Regions from separate parts of the Homo sapiens genome. Here regions 1, 2, 3, 4, 6 and 7 are each linked to region 5. The links are contacts of gene promoters, found by promoter capture Hi-C in blood cells and fetal thymus (Javierre and others, 2016). All regions are on one chromosome and are shown on one strand. The core of a region is centred on a gene start or on the middle of the fragment in contact, and the rest is flanking DNA. Distances in the headings are between cores, read along the strand shown. Region 1 overlaps LOC112267986 (a long non-coding RNA gene). Region 2 overlaps HEPACAM2 (HEPACAM family member 2). Region 3 overlaps SAMD9L (sterile alpha motif domain containing 9 like). Region 4 overlaps VPS50 (VPS50 subunit of EARP/GARPII complex). Region 5 holds the start of FAM133B (family with sequence similarity 133 member B). Region 6 overlaps VPS50 (VPS50 subunit of EARP/GARPII complex). Region 7 has its middle 4.9 kb from the start of SAMD9L.

Region 1 (2,700 bases), core at 45-2,544, 710 kb after region 5:
TAATATTACTTCCATTATACAACAAAATGAGTTAATAGAGGTGAAATGATTAGAATTGTGCATGGCAGATAGCATTACATAAATGTTTTCAAATATTATTTTTCTCTCCATGTACTTTCTCTTAAAATTCCTAGTTTTTGGATGTCTTTAATATAGTAATCAACAAATGAAGTTAGTTATATGTGAGTAGTTCACTATCGTTTTTAATGCAGGTCTTAGCACACTATGGCCCGTGGCCCAGCAGCCCCCAAGCTAAGAATGGTTTTTATACTTTTAATGGGTTGTGAAATATGGAAAGAAAAAAGAGAATTTGCAACAGAGACAGTATGTGACCCACAAAGCCTGAAATACTATTTGGTCCTTTATAGGAAAAGGTTGCTGACCTTTGGCTTAATATGCTTTCCCTTTCAAATACATTTGCAATTTTAAATCAGCACAGTTTATACCAAGGACTAAATCTCTAAAGGAGGAATTTCAAGAAACGCCTTAAATAGAAAGGAAAATAGTTTTCGACAGTGAAAATAGTATTTCATCTTGTGAATGTTTGCTCCCCTCCTCTCTGTTGAGACTAATTTTTCTACCAATGACTAAGAATCATTTCACGGTAATTAATTGAAGGTTTGGTACAGTAGGATCAAACAATCCAAAAGGTACTTAAACTCACCAGGCTAAATAGCATCTCAAATGATTATTGTGTTTCTCTTGGCCAACTCTGTCAGGCTGATCCAACTACCATGGGAATTGCTGTCATATCAGGTCTGGAATCAGCAAATTTGCTAGGCTAAGTATCCAGTTCTTTGCCACAGACCCTTGTGGTAATGAGTGTGGGAGCATGAAAGCTGACTCAGGAAGTCTTTAGGCACACTTCAGAGAAATAAAGTTGCCTGAAGTAAAATCTTTAGAAATCTTAAATTGTTAAAAAGCAATTGTGAAAAGGGGGGAAATTAAGCAATCTTTTTTATTTTTTGCCAACAAAGTGTTAACCTGAGACTCTCTGGGTAACTTTATCTACCACTTTAATTAGCCTTGAACAACTGGGAGACATTTTATGCTTTTGGCAACCAAAACAGCTGCAGGCAAGAGAATGGAATAAGGGAGTCCTGGGTAGAGACCTGATGGTCCTCTGAGGGCCCTCAAGTAAGTCACATAGGAAGCTAGCAGGTCTGTCTGTGAAGTTGATGTGGGGGTGGGGCAGGCATTTGTCTACTGAATCCAGGAGTCTGCGGGTGTTGTATCAACTGAAGGTAAGAGTGGGAGGAATGAAGGGCCACTTTCTTTTTGACCTTAATTGGGCTTGCTGAGATTCAAACATGAATGAATGGTCAATTGAGGGGCTGTGGTTTGCCAGAAATCTATTTGCATAAAGCAAGAAGGACACTTCCAGGGCAGAGGAACAGGCACATTTGGCACAGTCAAAAAATTCTTAATTATAAAAGGCAGAGGCACTTCTGAATACAGCACAGATTCTGTCTTCAGACTTGACTTTCAGCCCAGCTTCTGAGTATCTAAGTCCAACGTGTTGGGATTACAGGTGTGAATCACTACACTCAGCCACTTTATTTTTCTTAATTACATCAACTTGGTAGGGACATGGGTCTGCTATGGTCCTGGGGAAGGAGATGGAAGAGGCATGTAGAGGAGAAGACATTCAGGCTGAGAGTAAGACCTGCCACTAGAAATAAGGTCCAGGAAGGCAGGGGCTTTGTCTTGGTTTCCACTATGTCCCCTAACTTGAAAACAGGGCCTGGAATGTGAAGGTGCTGAAAAAATGTTCATTGAATAAACAAATGAAATACAGGCAAAGTATATACAGGTCCTATTGTAAAACATCATAAAGGACGATGAGGCAGTAGTCATTTCTCTTACTGGAGGTAATGACATTTCAAAAATCACTGAAGAAATACAATAAGAAAGAAACCTAATTAATTATACAACATCCTAACCCAACCATTATTACACTTCTATTGTTATACTTTCAGTATTTTATAATATGCAATTAAAATAGATTTATAATCAGAAAATTTCTGATGGGAAATATGGAACTTATTTTCAAAAGAACCAATCTGCCTTTACCGACAAAATATCACTAAAAACCAACATAGGTGATGTTACCTAAGTAAGTCTGAAATAATTATTGATAGCTAAATCAATACAACAAAGTATGTGGTATAAATCTTAGAGTTACTGGTAAAGAAAATATAAGACATGCATTCTCTTGCTAGTTCCTACTGTATGGGTTTCAGTGTTCTCATTTGTAAAATGAGAGGGCTGGGGCTCAATAATCTCAAAGGTTATTTTATTTAATTTAATCTCTAAATTTTATTTTACATGCCGATTGTAAAGCAGTTTGTGTGTGTGTATATACATAATATATAATAATATTAATTCAGACATAGGAGCTCCTTCCATGCAGAAGGAATATAGATTTTAGAAATTCACATTTTAAAAGCCATCTCCAATTTTTTGGGACTAATTTTTACCTGGAGGAATTGCAGTAAGTAGTTTACTTAATAGATAGACTGATTATTAGTATTTTAAATTCCCAAAGATAAATCTTTATCCTTCTAAACCAACAAAACAGAGAGTTAATTAAAAACAAAGTGACAACAACAACCCAACTAGGAGTAGTCAAAGGGGAAGAGTGATGGTAAAACGTAATTGGTTCATTGGCATAGAAATGGGATAAACACGCCGGGTGCG
Region 2 (2,700 bases), core at 95-2,594, 610 kb before region 5:
AAAGAGAAGAGGAAAAGAAGATTTGGCAGGGGCCAGGATTGCTTCTTTGTCCCCACTGTAACCCTCATTATCATCAATATTGACTGTACTGACTTATTATAAGTTAACAAAGTTTTGGCTCAGGCCACAAAATCACAGGGAGCCAAGTTTCAGTTTTATTTCCCCTCATGTCACCTTAGGAAAATTATTTTTCTTAACCGCAACTTCCTCTTCTATATAATAGGGATAAAAACTTCCCCCTTAAGGTTGCTATGAGAATTAAATAAAATGATATAGGTGGAGTGCCTGATATGATGCCTGGATGTGTAATAAATGTGGGCCTTCTTCCTCTTTTCTAGCCCTTCCTGACTTATAAGTGACAGAATGTCAGAGCTGGCAAGGGCCCCAGAGGCTATCTGGTTCCTCCTAACCACCTCCCCCGCCATCATTCTATAGATGATAGTTTATGTGGATTGATAGTGTAATGTATTTTACTTTTTATGTATGGGAAGCTTCAGTTAGCTATTTACTCTTTTTGTTCTGATGATCTGTTACATCTGTTAGATCTGTTAGATCTAACAGGGTGCAGTAGATATTACGGGTGGATCAAGAACTGGTGTGACCTTCAGGCTTAAACCCTGGTGACCATGAGTCTCTGGTAACTGCAAGTTACAAAGGCCAAGGTTGCCCACCTGTGTGTATTTAAAGATGTAACAGGCTATTCTCACGTCTGGCTTTAAGAATAATTGTTCCAATTCAGTTTCGATTCTCAGCTTCAGAAAGAGTGATTTCCAACACTGCTTAATGGCAATACGACTATAGGAATTAGGAAATGTTAAATTCATTTTGTACCTATACCATTTAAAACAGACAATAAAGATAAGTTTTACAAAGGTTTAAAAAACAACAGCAAATCAAGGCATTCGGTTTGTAAGCAGTATTTGTTTTACATTTCAGGCCATGAAGATGCTCTGGATGACTTCGGAATATATGAATTTGTTGCTTTTCCAGATGTTTCTGGTGTTTCCAGGGTTGGTTTTCCTAGTGGCTGATTAACCGAGAAGTAGAATTCTGCTTCACCAGAGGTGTAAAAAGCATTTGTTTAAGCACTGGGCAGTGTGGTCAAATGGCTGCATTACCCATTACTGCATTAAGCAGTGTTGACTTACTCCGTAATGAATGGCATTGCCAGATTTGGGAAGCTAAAGCATCTTACTTCGCCTTTATAAGTAAAGCTAACACAAATAAGGAAGTTATGCTAATTCATAAATAGTCTTTACCTGGTAATCTCAGTGAAGAGAGAACTAACTAGGTTGAAAGTCAAGAGAACTGAATAAACAAGCTGGGCGTGGTGGCTCACATCTGTATTCCTAGGGCTTTGGGAGGCTGAGATGGAAAGATCACTTGAGCCCAGGAGTTTGAGATCAGCCTGGGCAAAGACCCCATCCCAACAAATATTTAAAAATTAGCCAAGCATGGTTATGCATGCCTCTGGTCCCAGCTTCTTGGGAGACCGAGGCAGGAGGATCATTGAGCCCAGGAGTTCAAGGCTACAGTGAGCCGTGATCACACTACCGCACTCCAGCCTGGGCAGCAGAGTAAGACCCTGTCTCAAATAAATAAATACTGAATAAACAGCGGATCAGGAGACCCTAATTTAAGTCATTCTGCATCACTTGGGTGACTGCAACCCATCACTTTACTAAACTCTCTCTGTTCCTCAGTTTTCCCTTTATTGCCCCCTCATATCTTTTGACAACATTGCAAAGACAATTGATCACACCCTTGAAGATACCTCATGCTTCAGAAGGAAGTTACCATATAGGCCCAAAGTATGCAAGTATACATCTTTATTATTGCCCTAAAGGTGCATGAGATGGCAAAGGAGCTTTCATATAGTTGAAGTCATTTCAGTCCGGAAAAAAAAAAAAAAAAAAGATCTTTTAAAGTAATCAGTTTTTCTTAACAGACATGCAGAATGTTTCTGTGAGCAAATCAGATTATTAACATTTTTATAGATTTGTATAGAACCAAGTTTTCCTCTGCTTCCTTATTCTGCTATGAGAGTCCATTTGAGGAAGGGCACCATAAAAACAGATTACTTGCTTCCAGGCATTCTCATTTCCATTTGTTAAAAAGACTATTTGCCATTAGGGAATCGTGACTTCTCTTGTTCAGAGGATTCTATCAGTGTATAAGGTTCATCTAGTAAGCTTCCTCGCCACAGAGTTTATTTGAGAAATGTCATGTGAGTAATGGAGAGGGACTGATTGGATTTCATCCTCCCTAAGGGTGAGTCAGTAACAGTCACAGATGAAGCAAAGAACTACTGTGCAAAGGCTTTGCAATACCCTATTCAATCTCAGGCAGGATTGGCTCACCTTCACTTCCACAACCAAAAGACAAAAACAAATATTTGATGGATCAGTTATTTCAAACAGCTTCTCACGATGGTAGAAAGCACCACTCTGAGGTGTGGCTTCAAATTGGAGAGCAGGAAACTGAAGAGCTAAGACTTATAATTGAATTTTTGAATAAGGAGTTTCAGTTTTTTTATTTAAAATAATGCAAACATTTATTCCTAGGAATTCACTGGAAAGGAGTGAGATTTATGTAAGAAATTTTAAATCTTACCATGTGATTAATCACTACTCAATTTTGGAGTTTTACTGGGAGGACCTCAATTGGCTCAAAATATTATAGCCCTGAAGAACTTAAGCA
Region 3 (2,700 bases), core at 33-2,532, 540 kb before region 5:
CATACTATGACTGGTACATTCTTGTAACAAATAAATGCCATCCAAACCAAATAAAGCACTTAGATTTTTTAAAAGAAATTAAATGGTTTGCTGTGTTGGAGTTTGATCCTGAATCTATGATCAATGGAGTGGTCAAAGCTTACAAAGAAAGTCGGGTGGCAAACCTTCACTTTCCAAATCAATATGAAGACAAGACAACTAACATGTGGGAGAAGATTTCTACTCTTAATCTTTACCAACAGCCCAGCTGGATTTTCTGCAACGGCAGATCAGACCTGAAAAGCGAGACATATAAACCTCTAGAACCACATTTATGGCAGAGAGAAAGAGCTTCAGAAGTCAGGAAACTAATTTTATTTCTCACAGATGAAAATATAATGACAAGAGGAAAATTTTTGGTAGTGTTTCTATTACTCTCTTCAGTGGAAAGCCCAGGAGATCCACTCATTGAAACTTTCTGGGCTTTCTATCAAGCTCTCAAAGGAATGGAAAATATGTTGTGTATCTCTGTAAACTCACATATTTATCAACGATGGAAAGATCTACTACAAACAAGAATGAAGATGGAAGATGAACTAACAAACCACAGTATTTCCACTTTAAATATAGAACTGGTAAACAGCACTATCCTTAAACTAAAATCGGTGACTCGGTCATCAAGAAGGTTTTTGCCCGCCCGTGGATCTTCTTCAGTTATCCTAGAGAAAAAGAAAGAGGATGTCTTGACTGCACTGGAAATCCTCTGTGAAAATGAGTGTACAGAGACAGACATCGAGAAAGACAAATCTAAATTCCTGGAGTTTAAGAAATCAAAAGAAGAACACTTTTATCGAGGTGGCAAAGTATCCTGGTGGAACTTCTATTTTTCTTCTGAAAACTATTCTTCAGATTTTGTTAAAAGGGACAGTTATGAAAAGCTTAAAGATTTAATACACTGCTGGGCAGAGTCTCCTAAACCAATATTTGCAAAAATCATCAATCTTTATCATCATCCAGGCTGTGGAGGTACCACACTGGCTATGCATGTTCTCTGGGACTTAAAGAAAAACTTCAGATGTGCTGTGTTAAAAAACAAGACAACTGATTTTGCAGAAATTGCAGAGCAAGTGATCAATCTGGTCACCTATAGGGCAAAGAGCCATCAGGATTACATTCCTGTGCTTCTCCTTGTGGATGATTTTGAAGAACAAGAAAATGTCTACTTTCTACAAAATGCCATCCATTCCGTTTTAGCAGAAAAGGATTTGCGATATGAAAAAACATTGGTAATTATCTTAAACTGCATGAGATCCCGGAATCCAGATGAAAGTGCAAAATTGGCAGACAGTATTGCACTAAATTACCAACTTTCTTCCAAGGAACAAAGAGCTTTTGGTGCCAAACTGAAGGAAATTGAAAAGCAGCACAAGAACTGTGAAAACTTTTATTCCTTCATGATCATGAAAAGCAATTTTGATGAAACATATATAGAAAATGTAGTCAGGAATATCCTAAAAGGACAGGATGTTGACAGCAAGGAAGCACAACTCATTTCCTTCCTGGCTTTACTCAGCTCTTATGTTACTGACTCTACAATTTCAGTTTCACAGTGTGAAATATTTTTGGGAATCATATACACTAGTACACCCTGGGAACCTGAAAGCTTAGAAGACAAGATGGGAACTTATTCTACACTTCTAATAAAAACAGAAGTTGCAGAATATGGGAGATACACAGGTGTGCGTATCATTCACCCTCTGATTGCCCTGTACTGTCTAAAAGAACTGGAAAGAAGCTATCACTTGGATAAATGTCAAATTGCATTGAATATATTAGAAGAGAATTTATTCTATGATTCTGGAATAGGAAGAGACAAATTTCAACATGATGTTCAAACTCTTCTGCTTACAAGACAGCGCAAGGTGTATGGAGATGAAACAGACACTCTGTTTTCCCCATTAATGGAAGCTTTACAGAATAAAGACATTGAAAAGGTCTTGAGTGCAGGAAGTAGACGATTCCCACAAAATGCATTCATTTGTCAAGCCTTAGCAAGACATTTCTACATTAAAGAGAAGGACTTTAACACAGCTCTGGACTGGGCACGTCAGGCCAAAATGAAAGCACCTAAAAATTCCTATATTTCAGATACACTAGGTCAAGTCTACAAAAGTGAAATCAAATGGTGGTTGGATGGGAACAAAAACTGTAGGAGCATTACTGTTAATGACCTAACACATCTCCTAGAAGCTGCGGAAAAAGCCTCAAGAGCTTTCAAAGAATCCCAAAGGCAAACTGATAGTAAAAACTATGAAACCGAGAACTGGTCACCACAGAAGTCCCAGAGACGATATGACATGTATAACACAGCTTGTTTCTTGGGTGAAATAGAAGTTGGTCTTTACACTATCCAGATTCTTCAGCTCACTCCCTTTTTCCACAAAGAAAATGAATTATCCAAAAAACATATGGTGCAATTTTTATCAGGAAAGTGGACCATTCCTCCTGATCCCAGAAATGAATGTTATTTGGCTCTTAGCAAGTTCACATCCCACCTAAAAAATTTACAATCAGATCTGAAAAGGTGCTTTGACTTTTTTATTGATTATATGGTTCTTCTGAAAATGAGGTATACCCAAAAAGAAATTGCAGAAATCATGTTAAGCAAGAAAGTCAGTCGTTGTTTCAGGAAATACACAGAACTTTTCTGTCATTTGGATC
Region 4 (2,700 bases), core at 45-2,544, 660 kb before region 5:
TTTTACACATGTAAATTAGAAAAATAAACAGAAGCAACCAGATTGCCTATTCTTAACACAATTACTACATAATTTAATAGAAACTGATTCCCTAGGGTGGGAGATGTACAAAAATACATAATTCTTCACCTAAAATAGAACCAATACATAGGTGTGAGCCCAAATTTTACATAAACAAAATGAACAAAAAGTTTCCTATAAAAAAATTACAAGGCAAAATTGGGGGAAATGAATACCAAATGGAACTTCTTACACCATACTTAAACATATGATTTAAGAAAAAAATTATAATAATATTAGATATTCAAACTAAGTCTAGGATAAAATATTTCAGTCTTAAAAATGTTTAAAATATTTTTATAATAAATTTTATGTCACATAATAATTAATAAATACATAGTATCATTAATAGTGATATAAATGCTCTCTAAAACTTGAAAGTCCAAAAATAATTTGTCAACTACAGGCTACCAAATGTGCTGCCACACAACTTGCTGTCAATGGTAATCAACTAAGCAAAAAGTATTATCAGCATTACCCCAGAATTAAAGCTGGAGAAAAAAACTACAATTAAAGTAATGAATTGGAATAACAAAGAGGAGAAAACAAAAGCATAAAAGGCAAAAAATGAACAAATCAAATCTCTCTCCCATACTATCATTAGAAACTAACCTGCCTACTTTCAAAGCTCTATAACCTTATCTTCCCCTAAAAAACAAATTTCATTTAACAATTTTTTAAATTCCCATTATGTAAAAATTTCCCATACTAGGTCATACAGGAACGAAAATGAGTAAAATATAGCTCTTCCCTCAAACAGTTGTTAAAATAATAGGAGGGGTCAGATGAATAAGTAAGCAATGACAATGCACAGCAGAACATGAGGGTGATGCAAACAGAATGAAGGCATCAGACGGTGGGTTCACATCTGATGGAAGTGGTGGCATTTGGAAAATATGAGAGAATAGGTAGAATTTCAGATTTAGAAATTGGGAGAATAGGGTTACAAATATAAAGCAAAGCAAAAGTAAAAATATTGAATCGAGAAAGTGCACAACAGGTTAAAGCAATAAAGGGTGGCTTCCGCAGGATAGAAAAATGTCACAAGGGAGAGTCTGCATGTATGCCAAAAGACAAATGCAACAACTGAGATTTGTTTAAATTCAACATATTTTTTGTATATTAGAACCATATTTTCTTCACTAAAAGTAAAACATCTTAACACATATCACTGCCTCAGGTTAGGCTATATCAAAAACAGGCAAAAATATTCAATATTTTCTTAATGTAATAAACCAAGCAGAATTCAACGTTTTAGAGGCTGTGTTTTTCCAGCAGTCACAACATGCAATAAGGTTGCATATAATACCACCTAGTCTATTTTTCTATTTTGATCATGTCTGAGATAAAGCTACATGAACATGTACATAAATGTACATCAGAAATATAACTTTATGAAAAGTGAAGAAAAACAATCATATTAGAGATTTAAGTCAACATCTTTGATTTAGCAAAGCTACTTTTCCTCTCAATACAACAAAAAAGGTATTATGGGAATTGGGGATTCAGCTATGTAAAACAATTTGAGCCCTCAAATGTAAGGTATTATGATACATTCCCAGTATGTTTGTGGTTTCTAAGGAACTAGGCTATAACTTTACCAAAAAATTTTCCACTTAAGAGTTCATCACTCAAGGGAATATATTCAAGTTTAGGAGGAAAAAAAGAGAGACTACTAATTTTGTATTTAATCACTACTTTTAAATTATCTAAAATACCACACTAATTAAAAATACTAATCCAAATTCAGGGCTCTTAATTCTATTCACTTTTATAAAAAGTTATGACAGCTTAACAGTTTTCCTTACCATTATTAAACTCAATATTTTCTGCAATTTTGAAAAGTAATTTAACCTAATTTCTAAACCCACATAACAGCTTGGAATCTCATAATCTTCAGTACTAGTTTTTATTCAAACAAAAATATGAATGCAAATCTTTACTTCACAGGTCAGATTTCAAAACTCTGAAAAAAATATATAGAATAAAAAATGAAATGCACACCAACTCCTCTTTCTGTACTTAGCTCATTAGACCAGTCCACATTATACACCTGATTATATAACTCAGTGGCAGAATATAGTGCTTATATAGCTGATTATATAACTCAATGGCAGAATGCAGTGTATGTGTGTGTGTGTGTTGAGAAGGAAAGTGGAGAAATTTTACAAGCATGATTTGCGGTTTGCCACAGCAAATCTTTGATCAAAGACTTTTTTTTACTGTTTGCATTTCTTCATTCGTCAACATAAAAAATCTATTCTGTTATAGGGAAAACGGAAGCTATAATCTTACCAAAGTTAACATCACGTTAGGGCTCTAACTGAAAGCAAAAAAAAAAAGAAGCGTTTAGTGACCAAAATCTAAACAGAGCTAGAAGTAAGAACAAAACATGAAGTTTTCAATATTCAGTCAGTATTACAAAAGTCATTAATCACTGAACAGAAATAGATTTTATCTCTTTCCAAATGAAACAGGATTCAAAACTTATTTCAAGATCACAGATACCCTAAAACCACATGCCACGTAAGTTTATAATGAATGGCCAGATGTCTGATTACATGAGGAAATGGCACGTTCTCCTAAAATCCCACTAGAACAACAATAATAATCCGTCAAAGATAGCCGGTTCATCAGTTT
Region 5 (2,700 bases), core at 22-2,521:
GGAAAAGTTTTGAGACAGAAGATGGTAGTTGGGAGCATCTGTCATATAGTGTAGCATGAAAAATGCAGGGAGGGAGGGAGGCAGAGATCGGGAAAGATGATTTTAAAGCATGTTCTTGTATGTAATTAGTGTAATTCCCATTTTGCCATTTCCAAGAGTCCGGAGAAGATCCTAATTGATTTTCAACTACTTCCTAATGATACTTGCTAAGATGAACCCAGAGGGGTCGCTTTATCTATAAATACTTACTAAATATGATTATCTTCTCTGGAGCCCAGATCATCTTCCTTAAAGTTGCAGTGCAGTAGTGCCAATATTACGATATGCTATGCAGTAAAGTTGGCCCTGTGTGTGTTTATTGCCCTTACGAGTTTATAAACAGGCTCCTTGACGATAGGGATTTTTCTTAATCATCTTTGTGCCCTACCCAGCTCCAGCTTCCAGCCACCCAGTTAGTGAAAACTGTACAAACTACATGTTCAAAAATTAGTGTGAAATGAATGCACAGGTGATGAATGAATGGGATTGAAATTAAAGGGTGATTTCGTTAGCAGCGTCTATGACAGCACTGCCTTTCCCCCCACCAGCTGATGGGCTCCGTGAGGGACCAAGGCTCTTTGGTCCTCACTTTGTCCCCAGCACTTGCACTCTGTCAAGCACAAAATAAGCATCGGGAGAATCTTTGTGTCCCCTCGAATGAGTATTTCAGTGTATCAAGAATGGAAGAAAGGCCAAGCGCAGTGGCTCATGCCTGTAATCCCAGCACTTTGGGTCGAGGCGGGCGGATCACTTGAGGTCAGGAGTTATAGACCAGCCTGGCCAACGTGGTAAAACCCTGTCTCTACTAAAAATACAAAAAATTTAGCCCGGCGTGTTGACGGCCGCCTGTAATCTCAGCTACTCGGGATGCTGAGGCAGGAAAATCGCTTGAACCCGGGAGGTGGAGGCTGCAGTGAGCCTAGATCGTGCCACTGCACTCCAGCCTGGGCGACGGAGCGAGAGTCTGTCTAAAAAAAAAAAAAAAAAAAAAAAAAAAAAAAAGAATGGAAGAAAGCAAAACAATCCAAGGCCAAACTGAAGCGAGCTGCCTTGGTGGGGCTCCGGTGCAGAAGCGCAGCGTCGCCTGCTCTTGGGTGCCTAATGAACGACCGGACTCCTGCAGGCGCTCCGCCAACTGCAGCGATCTCTGGAGCCGGCCTGTCCTCCACAGAGATAGGGGGCGCTGTAGCAGAGCGCGGCCGTCGAGTCCGCGTGGTGCCGCTCTCTAGGCGGAGTGGGGAGGCGGCAAGAGGACCTGCGGCAGGCCCTCTTCGGCAGTCTCTCCGGCCCGGTTTCCCTCGGCGTGCTACTGTGCGCTCGATCCAGCACCATGGGGAAGCGGGACAATCGGGTGGTGAGTACTCAGCCGGGAAAACAGTGGGGCGACGCAGGGCCCGGCGGCAGGACAGCGAGAACCCTCGCTGTTCCCGGCCGGGCCGGAGGGCAAGCGGCAGCCCTCAGACGTGGGGCCTGGAGACCCAGCACCCTCCGCCGATCCCAGATGCGCGTGCGCCGCGCACGCAGTTGGCGCTTTAGGGTTCCCAGCTCTCTCTTGCCCGCCCCTTTTTTCTTCCCTCACCTCGTCGCTCTTTCTGGCGCTGCTGGTTTGCACTCTTGCCTGCTGTACGCGGGCCCCCAGTGCCCACTTAGAACCGCGAGGGCTCGGGGAACCCCCCCCACACCTGGCCCCGCCATGTAACTCCGAAGACTTAGGCCCTTGGACGCATCCGACTCACCCGCCCCTTGGTATCGGCCGCCCCAGGTCCGCACCCCTCTCCTGCGCACCCAAGTGGGAGGGAGGCACAGAGGCCTCGACGCGGTCCCTGTGCCGGAGAGCCAGCAGCGCGCCTGGTTTTAGCGACAAGCAGGCTCCCGTTTGAAAATGGGATGGCAGCATTTGCTTTCGTGTCTCCAGCGCCCTGTAGGACCTGGCCCCCATAGACACTGTGAGGGAATGAATGGCGTGAAAATAGTTGGCTTTCGAGTCCAACACAAAACTGGAATGTCAGTTTTGTTCCGTCGGAAGTTGGGTGACCTAGAACAAGTTACTTTTCTTCTCTGTGCCGTCGTTTATAAAAGGGGATCATTATTATCTACAACCTTACAGATTAATTGAAATCACAAAAGGCAAGATGTGTGAGCGAGTACTGGGCATGAAAATTATTACTCTAGTGAATGAGATAAAAGAGATGCATAAATAACTTACAGCAGAAAGAGTAGGAAATGGTCCTTGATAGTTGTTAGAGATTCTAAAGGCATTCAAAAGAAAAGGTGCTTTTGAGAAGCGGAGATGGGAGGAAAGTATTCTAGACCGCTGGGGCGGGGAGGGGGCTGAAAAACTCAGGTTATGAATCAGATTGAATGAGTAGTAAACATAATGAAATAACAATAAGCTTAGGTTGCAGCCTGACAATTTCTGGGCTTGCCTGTGACAAAGTTTTAGCCACTGAGTAGCAAAATGAGGAAAATGCACGTAAAACGAATGTGCTACGTTTCTTGAACTCGCTTTTTTATTCAACAATTATTTGCAAGCTGTGTGTGTCTCACACCAAAGGAGACTTAACATTTACGAAATGATGACACTTGCCATCTGTAGTAGCCAGTTCTTGCATGGCTTTTATAAAGAAAAACCTGAGGCTGGGTAATTTATAAAGAAAAGTG
Region 6 (2,700 bases), core at 114-2,613, 680 kb before region 5:
CATGAGATTAATAATATTCAGACTTAATCATGAAGGACAACAAATTCCTGATTAAGGAAAAATCCAAACATCCTTTTGTAACAAACCTGTGTTTTTCCAAGAAGTCGATAAGCTTGTTGAACCTTGGTATAATGGTTAATGTCAAAATTCTTGCAGATTTTGGAAAGAGCTACGTCCAGCTGTTCCTATATAATTAAAAGAAGAAGCAAGACATGGTTAAGGAATTATGTTTTCAAGGCAATGAGAAGAAAACATTAAGACTAATTTCTCACTTTTAGTTAACATTTAAATACATTTACTATCATACCAGATTTAGAAGTCAAAAACAAATTTAAATAAAGTTATAAATTGCAATTGTAAATTTATTAGCAACTATAATCAAGTTTACCAAGATATTAACATGTGAATTTCTATGCCTTAAAACCCATGCCTAGTGTTTTACAGGAAACAAAATAATAGTTTTGTAATGAATCTTACTCTTACTACTACTTAATGTTTCCTCAAGCATCTGCTAAAATCTTATATAAACTGAATTTGTGGGACTACTGGAGAACAATAAAACAATCTTTCTCTAATCAACGAAAAGGAATTCTCAACAAAACTACATTGAATTTAAAAGTATATTCCTCAAGGTTTAAGCTCTTTTATCTAAATTACCATGCTTTATGGATTTCTTTTTCAATGATTTTACTTTGAAATAAGAGTTTTTAATATAAATACAGAATAATATCTATTAAAAGTGAAGAAATCCTGGGCTCTCAAAAGAAAGCCTTCATTAAAATATTCAGGGAATTGTTAACTTAAGCCACTCAAAGCAGTTGTTTCTGTGACTATCAAATAAACTGTCATTCTCACAATTATTTAATAGCAAATAATTGCATTTGTGGTCAAAAATTACTTTCTCAAAAGGTAATTTGAAAGTCCAATCTCAACTTTTATAAATACTCTTATCAGGAAAACAATAAAAGACTAGAAGAAACCAAATACAAATAATTCTTATTTATTAAAATGAATACCCTCCTTTGCAAAGATTGTCAAGGAAAGAGATGAATTTTGAATATATGTAACAGGCAAAACATGCTTCATGCTCATAATTACATATCTCTTCCTTTTTAGTTTCTACGTTTTTGATGAACTATGTGAGTATCATTATGAGGTTTAGGAATTTTGGAGGGTTTTCATCAGCCAATAATTACTTACAGGTAAATTAACTCACTATACTAAACAATAAAGTAACTGATAATTAAAATATAATTAATACATAGAAAGTATTTTGGCTATTATATAATTTATATGAGAACACACCTATGACTAATAGTTTGGAAATTTTTCTTGGAAATGGCAATATTTTCAAATGCTGTTTTGAGATCCCATAATTTACAAGTAAATTTTTACACTAACTTGACCATAAATAGATATTCCAAATGAAAATCAAGAAATACAGTGATCTAGAGACATTGGTAATAACATAAAAGCCAAAACACAATGTTGCACCTAGGCTATTCAAAAACTTCTGAAAAGAAAAACTCATTAAGGTTAGGATATAATACTTCTTACCTCAATCTGTTCCAAAGTATCTTGCAGCTTTGAATTCAGTTCACTATTAAAAAAAAAAAAAACAGTTTTTTTCTATTTCTGAGACAAACTAAGTGCTAAATAAATACATACTAACTGAATAATTAATCCATAAATTCAAAGATTAAGAGTATAGATCGTAAGACATGCTGCTGAATTCTACATATAGACAATGCAATAAGAAAAAGTATTAGAAGGGAATAAGAGTCATTAGCAGCAGCAACAGGATTGCGTGAGTAGAAAGAAAGAATCTACAGATAAAAATAAAAAAACTGAAGAATTAAAATTGGTAACTTTTACATAAACAGTGTGTCTATATAAACAATGTTTGTGTGTTTAACAGCCAATTGAATATCCTCTTTCTCAGTGATCTGAAGACTTTTGCCCTTTATTTTTATTCTATCTGTCCCAAGTGTATTGGTCATTCAGGAAATGCAAATTAATACTATAAAAACACTGTAACGAATGAAAAAAATGGCTAAAAATATTTTTAAAAAATTAAAAATGACACCACCAAATGTTGGCAAGGACGTTGAGCAAACAGAACCACTCATCTGATGCTAGAGGAAGGGGAAACTGATATAACCTCTTGGAAAACCCTAATATCTACTGAAACAACACACACTCTACCTCCCAGCAGGTCTAGTCCTGGATACATACTGAACAGAAAAGCACACAGAATCCTTGCAGCATTATTTTTAATAGGCAAAAACCTGAGGCAACACAATTGTCTAGAATAATTAGATAAGCAAAATGTGATACATTCATAAAATAAAATCCTATAGCAATTAAAATTTATGTGAACCACAAAAATATGTTTGGCAAAAGAAGTCAGTAAAAAATAGTATATACTGTATGCTTCCATTTATTTAAAGTTCTAAACAAGCAAAACTAATTTTGGTGACAGAAGCCAGAACAGCGCTTACCTTAGAAGAATGACTGGGATGAGACATGCGAGAAGTTTGTGGGGTGTCAGAAATACTCTGTTTCTACTTCTAGGTGGTAATTACATAACTATGTTTACTTTATAAAAGCTTACTGAGTTATACTCATACACTTAGGACACGTGATTGAATCTAGATTTTTCCCCCTTTAATTCTTACGAGGTCAGTAAAAAAAAAAAAT
Region 7 (2,700 bases), core at 131-2,630, 560 kb before region 5:
TTGTCCATTATATAGGAAGACATTTCATCACATGAGAGTGATGGAGGTCAAAATTGACAGGGGATGCGCAGTTGAGAATCTCCGAAATATGCTTTTTGAGAGAGAAAGACAAAGCTAAATAAAACCTAGATTACTGGGCATTGTACATTGCCTATTTGAAGTTACATGCTTTCCGGCCTGGGAAATTTCTCAAATATTAAATTTATATATTTTTAAATACATATAGAAAAAAAAGAAAGGCAGTAAACAACAGGAAATAGATATTGTATTTGGATAACATAGGTTTTCTCCCTTCTTTGTATATTCTGTATTTTTTAAGTTTGAAAATAAACTTTTATTATAGTCACAGTTGAAGAAATAATGATATTTAGCTTTACTGAGGTATAATTGATTCAGAAAAACATTGTACACATTTAATATATACATCCTGATATCTATAACCTCCAAAAAAAAGTTTTAGTTTTCAAAGAAAATGAAATCAATGGTGAATCAGCAAGCAGAAATTTAATGGCACTGTATTAATTTGCCAAGGCTGCCATAACAAAGTACCACAGACTGAGTAGCTTAAGCCACAGAAGATTAAGTGAAGATTAGTAAGTGTTCAATTTAAGAAAGCATTGAGTGAGCTTGTCTTGCATTCCTACACAAAAAGTACAACTGCAATATATTCCACAACAGCAAAGCAAAATAAGTAAAATCATTCCAAGTAAACTAAACAGGGAAGCTTTCCAAAAACTGGGAAGTTGTTGGAACCAAGTCGATAAAGGGTCAACTGATGGTACATCGATGTCAGAGAGATGAGTGTCTAAAGCTTTCACAGGCTAGGTAATAGTCTGGAACATAATAAAGTCCCCCACAAACTTAAGCTGGCCGATTGAATATGTCAGAGCAACCCAGAAGTGGAGGAAAGTGGCAATTCTCCACCTACCCAACAGTTTGACTGATTATGTAGAGGCTAAAGTCTGTGCCCACTCAGTAAATAAGTTACTCTCTGCATGATTCCAACTTATACCCAAAAGTAGATTGTCAATCTATATTTTTCTGTAACCCTTCCCTTTCATTTCTTCCAAACAGGAGTCAGAGGTCACTGATTCACTCACAGGAATAAACAGGATCAGTCTCTTGTGTTCCACAGGTCTGTGGGACTTCGTAAGAGTCAGGTTTAATTTGAGGTAAGTGGACCCAGCTGTTTATTCCCAGGAGTTTAGCTGCAGTTGGGCTACTAAGGAATTCATAGGGCTGAAGATGTGTTTTGGGTAATTGTTGCTGTGAAAGATGGGCCATTATCATTCTGTAAGCTCTTAGGCAGCACAAATCTGGGAATTATTTCCTTTAGTAGGAGCTTAGAAACTTCAATTGCCTTTTCAGACCAGATAGAAAAAGCCTCAATTCAACCAGTAAAGGTGTCAACGAATACTAATAAATAGTTAAACCCTTTACATTGGACTATCTGAGTACAGTCTATTTGCCAATCTTCACCAAGGTACATTTCTCTGTGCCGAACAGGCCTTACTAGAGGAGGAGGTAAAGATCGGTTATTTGGGTTATTCTGGGCACATAGTTCACAGGCCTGAGTCACCTGCTTTGCTGTTTTAAGTAAGTCTTTTCCTACAAAAAGCTGTGACATTGATTGATACAGGGAATCGCTTCCCAAATGAGTAGAGTCATGCAAATGCTTAACTATTTTCCAGTGATTAGCACCTGGTGTCAACAGTTTGTTATCATTGATAAGCCAGCCAGAATGATCTTCAATTAAACCCTGACCTTCAATGGACCTTCAGTCCATTCCTCTTCCTCTTTAATATATCTTGGTTCTGTTATTATCATGGCTGGGGGCTCCTTTAACACTGTGGCCTTAGCAGCTGCATCTGCAAAGGAGTTTCCCTTAGTCACACTAAGGGAAGAGCCTCTTTTCTCAGCTCACTGCAACCTCCACCTGCCAAGCTTAAGCAATTCTTCTGCCTCAGCCCCCTGAGGAGCTGGGATTACAGGCACCTGCCACAATGCCCGGCTAATTTTTTTTGTATTTTTAGTAGAGACGGGGTTTCACCATGTTGGCCAGGCTGGTCTCGAACTCCTGACCTCAAGTGATCCACCCCCCCCCCTTCCCAATCCCCACTCCTAAGCCTCCCAAAGTGCTGGGATTACAGGCATGAGCCACCGTGCCTGGCCCAGAATTTCTAAGTGATGTTTTATAGGGGAACCCTTAGCAGTTAGGAGTCCCTATTCCTTCCAGATAGCAGCATGAGCATGAAGTATCAGGAAGGCATACTTAGAATCAGTGAAATGTTAATTCTTAAGTCCTTTCCCAATTGCAGGGCTCTAATAAGAGCTATTAATTCCGCCTTTTGAGCTGAGGTAGAAGCTGGTAAGGCCTGAGATTCGATTACCTCGTGTTGACTGTCAACGGCATACCCAGCTTTCCCATCTCCCTGGTGCACAAAGCTACTTCCATCTGTAAACCATACTGCCTCAAGATTATCTAGAGGCTTATCCTTTAAATCTGGACAGCTGGAGTAAACTTGCAGCATAACTTATATACAAGAATAATGTACGATACTTGTGGGTTCAGGCAAATAGGTAGCTGGATTCAACATATGGCATACTTTAAGTGTTATATCAGGATGTTTAGCAACAAAGGCTGATATTTACTCACAGGAAAGAAGAAGGAGCAATTTCAGTCTGCCTTATGATTTCCAA

The links. Contacts are between HindIII fragments. The CHiCAGO score rates a contact against its expected background, and 5 or more counts as called.
Region 1: a contact is called between a fragment that was not itself captured here and the fragment with the promoter of FAM133B in region 5, in 6 of 17 cell types (naive CD8 T cells, non-activated CD4 T cells, total B cells and 3 more). The highest score is 8.2, in naive CD8 T cells.
Region 2: a contact is called between a fragment that was not itself captured here and the fragment with the promoter of FAM133B in region 5, in 2 of 17 cell types (naive CD8 T cells and naive B cells). The highest score is 5.8, in naive CD8 T cells.
Region 3: a fragment that was not itself captured here is called in contact with the fragment with the promoter of FAM133B in region 5 in 1 of 17 cell types (fetal thymus); the score reaches 5.4 in fetal thymus.
Region 4: a fragment that was not itself captured here is called in contact with the fragment with the promoter of FAM133B in region 5 in 1 of 17 cell types (neutrophils); the score reaches 5.1 in neutrophils.
Region 6: a contact is called between a fragment that was not itself captured here and the fragment with the promoter of FAM133B in region 5, in 1 of 17 cell types (neutrophils). The highest score is 5.2, in neutrophils.
Region 7: a fragment that was not itself captured here is called in contact with the fragment with the promoter of FAM133B in region 5 in 3 of 17 cell types (non-activated CD4 T cells, total CD8 T cells and naive B cells); the score reaches 6.1 in non-activated CD4 T cells.

Annotation. Positions count from the first base shown.
Region 1 is chr7:91,882,321-91,885,020 of GRCh38, reverse strand. The region is part of intron 1 of LOC112267986 (a long non-coding RNA gene); the gene reads right to left. Among named protein-coding and RNA genes, the nearest start is that of MTERF1, 3.0 kb to the right of the region's middle. The HindIII fragment of the contact is 4,536 bases long and covers 1-2,700 here.
Region 2 is chr7:93,194,138-93,196,837 of GRCh38, reverse strand. HEPACAM2 (HEPACAM family member 2) reads left to right here. Exons shown (of 10, transcript NM_001039372.4): 8 at 937-1,010. Among named protein-coding and RNA genes, the nearest start is that of HEPACAM2, 31 kb to the left of the region's middle. The HindIII fragment of the contact is 1,701 bases long and covers 494-2,194 here.
Region 3 is chr7:93,132,038-93,134,737 of GRCh38, reverse strand. It overlaps SAMD9L (sterile alpha motif domain containing 9 like), which reads left to right. Exons shown (of 5, transcript NM_152703.5): 5 at 1-2,700. Among named protein-coding and RNA genes, the nearest start is that of SAMD9L, 15 kb to the left of the region's middle. The HindIII fragment of the contact is 725 bases long and covers 920-1,644 here.
Region 4 is chr7:93,245,785-93,248,484 of GRCh38, reverse strand. The region is part of intron 2 of VPS50 (VPS50 subunit of EARP/GARPII complex); the gene reads right to left. Among named protein-coding and RNA genes, the nearest start is that of VPS50, 15 kb to the right of the region's middle. The HindIII fragment of the contact is 9,468 bases long and covers 1-2,700 here.
Region 5 is chr7:92,588,961-92,591,660 of GRCh38, reverse strand. It overlaps FAM133B (family with sequence similarity 133 member B), which reads left to right and starts at 1,271. Exons shown (of 11, transcript NM_152789.4): 1 at 1,271-1,393. The coding sequence starts at 1,370. RefSeq lists enhancers at 1,114-1,393, 1,484-1,543. The HindIII fragment of the contact is 8,062 bases long and covers 1-2,434 here.
Region 6 is chr7:93,270,120-93,272,819 of GRCh38, reverse strand. VPS50 (VPS50 subunit of EARP/GARPII complex) reads right to left here. Exons shown (of 28, transcript NM_017667.4): 10 at 1,558-1,600; 11 at 87-185. Among named protein-coding and RNA genes, the nearest start is that of VPS50, 39 kb to the right of the region's middle. The HindIII fragment of the contact is 2,497 bases long and covers 115-2,611 here.
Region 7 is chr7:93,151,947-93,154,646 of GRCh38, reverse strand. No RefSeq gene overlaps it. Among named protein-coding and RNA genes, the nearest start is that of SAMD9L, 4.9 kb to the right of the region's middle. The HindIII fragment of the contact is 1,133 bases long and covers 814-1,946 here.